Linked DNA regions of Homo sapiens: region 1 is linked to region 2. Evidence: promoter capture Hi-C in human tissues and cell types (Jung and others, 2019). All regions are on one chromosome and are shown on one strand. The core of a region is centred on a gene start or on the middle of the fragment in contact, and the rest is flanking DNA. Distances in the headings are between cores, read along the strand shown.

What was found. The method cuts DNA at HindIII sites, captures the fragments that hold promoters and counts their contacts. A contact is called where the count stands out against the background at its distance.
Region 1: a contact is called between the fragment with the promoter of SYDE1 here and a fragment that was not itself captured in region 2, in 3 of the 25 tissues and cell types used here (dorsolateral prefrontal cortex, lymphoblastoid cells and spleen).

What each region holds. Positions count from the first base shown.
Region 1 is chr19:15,106,147-15,109,425 of GRCh38, forward strand. SYDE1 (synapse defective Rho GTPase activating protein 1) reads left to right here and starts at 1,255. Exons shown (of 8, transcript NM_033025.6): 1 at 1,255-1,375; 2 at 2,910-3,251. The coding sequence starts at 1,288. RefSeq lists an enhancer at 2,941-3,279. The HindIII fragment of the contact is 3,798 bases long and covers 1-3,279 here.
Region 2 is chr19:15,609,984-15,613,451 of GRCh38, forward strand. It overlaps the pseudogene RPL23AP2. Among named protein-coding and RNA genes, the nearest start is that of CYP4F8, 3.5 kb to the right of the region's middle. The HindIII fragment of the contact is 7,491 bases long and covers 1-3,468 here.

The sequences.
Region 1 (3,279 bases), core at 5-2,504, 500 kb before region 2:
AAACAATTGCATTCTTTCGAGTTTCTGACTAGCCTTTCTGAATATGCAATTTACAGAGATAGTCACTTATGCCTTAGTCTGGCTTAGTGAAACAAATAGGTAAGGAAGCGATCAGATATGTGTTTGTCTCATGTGAGCAGAGGGACAATTTTGAGTTCTGCCTGTCCTTCATCCATAAGGAATTTCCTTGTAGGCAAATTGTGGGGGAGGTATGTAGCTTTTTTTTTCTTTTCTTTTCTTCTTTTTTTTTAGACGGCATCTTGCTCTGATGACCAGGCTAGAGTGCAGTGGTGCAATTTTGATTCACTGCAACCTCCACCTCCCGTGTTCAAGCAATTTTCCTGCCTCAGCCTCCCAAATAGCTGGGATTACCAGTGCCCACCCACCATGCCTGGCCAATTTTTTTTCTTTTTCATATTTTTAGTAGAGATGGAGTTTCACCATGTTGGCCAGCCTGGTTTCGAACTCCTGACCTCAAGTGATCCGTCGCCTCAGCCTCCCAAAGTGCTAGGATTACAGGAGTGAGCCACCGCGCCCAGCTAGCTTTTTTAACCTTGTAGCTATCTTACTTAGGAATAGAATGGGAGGCAGGTTTGTCCTACACAGTTACCAGTTTGACTTCTTCCTTTTGGCTCAGTGATTTGGAGGTCTCAAGATTTATTTTCCTTTCACAATCACGACATGGTTGTTTTACATCATTACGTTTGGGGATGGTTTGTCAAACAGCAGTAGTAATTGGAATTTGGAGGTGAGAGAATTGAGTGGGGAAAGAGTGGCATGGGGAGACCAAGGAAGAAGCTTGGGGTGGGGTGGGTAGTGGGGACGGTCATTGAAACGAATGACACTACGGCTTGCACCAGGTTGAAGCAGTACCTGGCAAGGAGAGAGAGGATACGTGGAGGCTGCGATTTGGAGACAGACCCAAGAGAACTTCCTGGATGCCATCACCCAGAGTCCCATCCAGGGAGGGTGGGTGAGGTGGAAGACAAGGGATCGGGCCTGCGCCACGATCGTCACGTCCCATCGAAGCTGGAGCGGATCCGGGCACCCGGAGCCCCCATTCCAACCCCTCCCGGCCCCAGGCAACTACATCTCCCAGCATCGCCCGCTCGGGCCGCGGGAAAGGGGAAAAAAAAAAAAAGTTTGGGCCAAGCATTCCCGGAATGTGCTTCCTGCTGGCGCGGGGCGGGGGGCGGGCGGGGAGGCCCGGGCGGGGCGGGGAGGGCGCGGGGCGGCGCGGCCGGAGCCCGGGGCGCGCACTCGGCTCGGCCCGGCCCGGGCCGCAGCATGGCCGAGCCGCTACTCAGGAAAACCTTCTCCCGCCTGCGGGGCCGGGAGAAACTTCCCCGGAAAAAGTCGGACGCCAAGGAGCGCGGTAAGCGGAGATCGGTGGGGAACAGGGGGCGCCGAGCCCCACCCGGCCTGGGAGCGGGGTCCCAGGGCCCCGAGGACAGACGGTGGGGGGGATCAGGGGGAGCCCCCCGCACCCCGCTGCAGACTGGGGTGCCTCCAGCCAGGGGAGGGTAGGGGTCCTGGAAGGAAGGGGCTGGGAGGGAGGGGGGCGCGGACCGTTATGTGCTGCTGGCCGGGGATGCCAGCGCTGCGGGCTCCTTGGGAGGCCCGGGAGGGGGCCTCGCCCACGACAGGAAATGGGGCCGCGACTGAGGGCCTGGAGGGTGGAGGGGAGGAGGGGCTGGGAGGCCGGGACACTGGGGCCCAGTCGGGCTGGGCAAGGGGCATCGGGAGCCCTGGAGGCGCAGGATGGGAGATGGGAGGCGTACTCCTGCAAAGGAAAGAGAGGGGCGGCCCGTCAATCAGAGTAGCTGCCCCCTCCGCCTCCCACCTACTAACAGTGACGGCAACTGCGCCTGCCTTAGCCCCAGGAAACTGTCCCTTTTATACAGATGGGGAAACTGAGGCACGGAGCAATTGGGTCATGTGCCCAGGGCCATCGACTTAAACAGCTCTTTGGACTATGCTACAAACAGAGACCCTAGAGGGTGGACATCAGAGGTGGCCAGAGGAGGAGTTCAGCAGGGTAGCAAGTAAAAACCTTAGAGAAACAGCTGCGTGGGATAGGGGGACCCAGGAAGGAAGGAGTTAAAGGAGGAAGGCCAGACCATTCCATGGACGTACCCCTTCCCCCCAGGCCTTCCCAAAGATTCCCAATGTTCCCAGGGAAGGGAGAAGGGACAGAGATGCCCAAACACAAACACACACAGGAAACAGCCCAGGACATGAGACAGGAGAGGAGGGAGGGAAGGGGAAGTCCCAAAGCATTGAGCGTGGGGGGTCTGGCCTGGGCTGAGGGACAAGGGCCCATCCCAGGATGGCGACAGAGTTTGGAAGACAGGAGGGAGGGTAAAAGGGGCAGGGGACTGGGAGTGACTGTGCTGCAGGGAATAGAAAACCCAGCTCCTCACTCCTGAGCACGTAGTGCCTGCTGTGGGCTGTATACTTTTCCAAAAGGCTCCTGGAAGCCTCCCTGGACATGGAAATCACATCCCCCCATTTCACAGGAGGATACTGAGCCTCAGAGAGGGAAGCGACTTGCCCAAGGCCACGCAGGTGCAAAGCTCCATGCCACGGTTATTGAGAGGGTAGAGGAAGTGGAGACTGGAACGCAGTACCTACGGGCCCCAGGAAGCCTGACTTAGAACCCTGAGGCTGCAGGGATGGAGTCCCCTTTTGGGATGCCAGGGACTGAGTAGGGGGTGCTCTAAGCTGATAACTGAGATCGCTAGCCTGTGGCTGCCTATTCCAAACAAAACAGCAGGATCCAAGGAACCATGACTTATCAGGGGCCGGCCAGGGCCGTACACAGCATCCCACCCACTGATCAATTGCACAGGGCTGCTCTGCAGGCAGTGAGGGGCTGGGTGGGTCTCACTCCCCTTGCTCTCTGCCAGGCCACCCAGCCCAGCGCCCAGAGCCCAGCCCTCCAGAGCCAGAGCCCCAGGCTCCCGAAGGGTCCCAGGCCGGAGCAGAGGGGCCCTCCAGCCCCGAGGCATCAAGGAGCCCTGCACGGGGAGCCTACCTGCAAAGCCTGGAGCCCAGTAGCCGCCGATGGGTGCTGGGTGGGGCCAAGCCAGCTGAGGACACCTCTTTAGGGCCTGGGGTACCTGGCACTGGGGAGCCCGCCGGCGAGATCTGGTACAACCCCATCCCTGAGGAAGACCCCAGACCTCCAGCACCTGAGCCCCCGGGGCCACAGCCTGGCTCAGCTGAGTCAGAGGGCCTGGCCCCCCAAGGTAAGAACAAGCTTCCCATCCCCTTCCC
Region 2 (3,468 bases), core at 60-2,559:
TGACCAGGGAGGCCACTCTGAAACACTGATGACTACATCATTTTGTGGAGTGAAATTAAAGCTGCCGAGGCAGAAATACTTTGATAAGGGTTTATTTGAAGCCAAAGGTGAGGATCAACCCAGAAAGATGCACCAACACATTTGGATGTGTGCCAGAATCTTTTACAATTTGGAATGTTTTTATAAGAAAGTTTAGGAGAAGAGAAGGGAACTTCTTATATCAGAATTGTCTGTTTTTATTGGAGGGTATAATACAGAGGTCATAATGATTAGATACAGGTTATAACATACAGGCTAAAACATTTTGTATGTAAAACCATCAGTGAAACTTTATAAGAGAGGGCACAGTGGCTTATGCCTGTAATCCCAGCACTTTGGGAGGTTGAGACGGGCAGATCCCTTGAGGAGAAGCTCATCGCTCCTGAGGCCAGTAGTTCGAGACCAGCCTAGCCAATATGGTGAAACTCTGCTCTACTAAAAATACAAAAATTAGCTGGGCATGGTGGCACATGCCTGCAATCCCAACAACTCGAGAGGCTGAGGCAGGAAGGTTGCTTGAACCTAGGAGATGGAGGTTGCAGTAAGATGAGACTGCGCCACTGCACTCCAGCCTGGGTGACAAAGACCCTGTCTCAAAAAAAAAAAGAAAAGAAAAGAAAAACTTTATGATTTATAAATATAAAGCAAAACTTCATGGTTTAGAAACAAAGGATTGTGCTTTTCCATATCAGTGGAAAATCAGAACATCAACAGTTGGAAGAACTCATAAGATCTGAGTAATTAAAGATAAGATTTGAGGAACTCACAAGATTCTTTACTCAGGAACAGGATGTAACCCATGCATCAAGAGATCTTTTCCGGGGGCTAATTGGGACTAATGTGACTGGTAGGTTATCAGCAGAGACCACGTCTGTCTTGTTCAACCTGTGTCCCAGGTCCTAGCACCATGCCTGCTACCATTTAAGTGTTCATGTGAAGTTTGTTGTTGAGAAACTAATTACCTAAAAGTTAGAACTTGACCTTTGCATTTTATCGAGGAGGCTATGAGACTCAGAGGGTTACACAGCTAGTGAGTGGCAGAGCCTGGACTTGAACTCAGTTGTGCTGAAGCCAGAATGTGTTCCTTCCTGAGCATTCAAGGACAGGGAAGGTGAAACTCCAGCTAGTGGGCAGCCCGTGTGCTTGTTCTAGGGAGACTGCAGGCCGATTCCTGGGAGCTGGGTCTTCATGGTGACACAGTAAGAACAACTCACCTATTGGCTGGGCGCAGTGGCTCACGCCTGTAATCCCAGCACTTTGGGAGGCCGAGGTGGTTGGATCACTTGAGGTCAGGAGTTGGAGACCAGCCTGGCCAATATGGTGAAACCCTGTCTCTACTAAAAATACAAAAATTAGCTGGGTGTGGTGGCTCATGCCTGTAATCTCAGCTGCTCGGGAGGCTGAGGTAGGATAATCGCTTGAACCTGGTGGGGCGGAGGTTTCAGTGAGCCGAGATTGGCACCATTGCCCTCCAGCCTGGGTGACAAAGTGAGACTCTGTCTCAAAAAACAAAGCAAAGCAAAACAAAACAAAACGAAACAGAACTACTCACCTATGTTGTGGATCAACTGTGTCCCCACTGTACCAAATCCTTATTTATTTAAAAAAATTTGTTTTGGACCCTTTTCACAAGATGGTGCCGAAAGTGAAGAAGGAAGCTCCTGCCCCTCCTAAAGCCGAAGCCAAAGCGAAGGCTTTAAAGGCCAAGAAGGCAGTGTTGAAAGGTGTCCACAGCCACAAAAAGAAGATCCACACGTCACCCACCTTCCGGCGGCCGAAGACACTGCGACTCCGGAGACAGCCCAAATATCCTCGGAAGAGCGCTCCCAGGAGAAACAAGCTTGACCACTATGCTATCATCAAGTTTCCGCTGACCACTGAGTCTGCCATGAAGAAGATAGAAGACAACAACACACTTGTGTTCATTGTGGATGTTAAAGCCAACAAGCACCAGATCAAACAGGCTGTGAAGAAGCTCTATGACATTGATGTGGCCAAGGTCAACACCCTGATTCGGCCTGATGGAGAGAAGAAGGTATATGTTCGACTGACTCCTGATTACGATGCTTTGGATGTTGCCAACAAAATTGGGATTATCTAAACTGAGTGCAGCTGCCTAATTCTGAATATATATATATATATCTTTTCACCATATACATGCCTCTCTGTCAATTTCTGGTTGGGCTGGGAGGCCACACACAGACACTGACATGACAGGGCTTGGGCAAGACTCCTGTTCTACTTATCCTTTTGAAATATTCACCCTGCCACTCCACCATGTGTGATCACTCCAGAGATCTTTGTGACTAGAGTTAGTGTCCTAGGAAAACCAGAACTCAGAACTTGCCTCCATGGTTGAGGGTAACAAGAAGCTGTACAAGAACCCCTTTTATCCCTGGAAGAGGCTGTGTATGAAACCAATGCCCAGGGTTTGAAGGGCGTTAGCATCCATTTCAGGGGAGTGTGGATTGGCTGGCTTTCTGGTAGCATTTTGTCCTCACACACCCATCTACTGTGTCCAACCGGTCTGTCTGCTTCCCTCACCCCTTGCCCAATAAAGGACAAGGACTTCAGAGGAAAAAAAAAATTGTTTTAATTATTACATTTATAGCATCCCAGCTTGAAAAACGAAGCAACAGAGACGTGTAGAAAGTTAAAAGGTTTCTACTCCAATTGTAATTTCTCCAATTCCATCGTGGTATGTGCATTCTTCTGGATTTTTTTCAGTGTGCATACACATGTGTACATACAGACACATACACATACACTCGTACGTTTTTTATATTGATGGGACCATTACTCACATCTTTAATTTGGAACTTATTCTCTGCTCTCTCTCCCTGTGTCTGATAGAATGCTGGCAATGCTTTGTGATGCTTTAGGAGACACATTTGTCAGATGTGAAGACTTAGGCTTAGGAATTGATGGGTGGTGACTGAGGCTGGTCACTCTGTGGTCTGGTGCACTTTCCCACTGCCCCACTCTGGGTAGGGGTGGAAGGGCCCCTGCAGAGAAGCACCAGCTTCTGTTTTCCCATGAGTGACTCCCCTCCCTCCAATACTCACTAGGGGACTTTCCATAAGCCAGGCTGTGTGATTTGGCCCCTGAGATATTCCTGGTTGGATGAGAAATCTTGGGGAGACTCCAGCCTTCTCAGGCACAAAACTCCCAGAGTAGAGAGCTCCCTCTGGACTATCTCTCCTGCCCTTGGCCTCAATTTCCTGTTCTGCTACCTGGTCCAGGAATCAGGACCTCAGTGATGAAACTTGGCTTCTCCCAGGCTGCAGAGTCCTGCTGGGGTGTGAGTCCTTGCTCATGGCTCATGAAAGTTCAACATATGCTTATGGCTTCAATATTGGGCCAGATTTCACTTCCCACCTTGGCCTTCCCAAGGATGAATTGTGTGGTCCCATGTGTTGGTGATCTCAG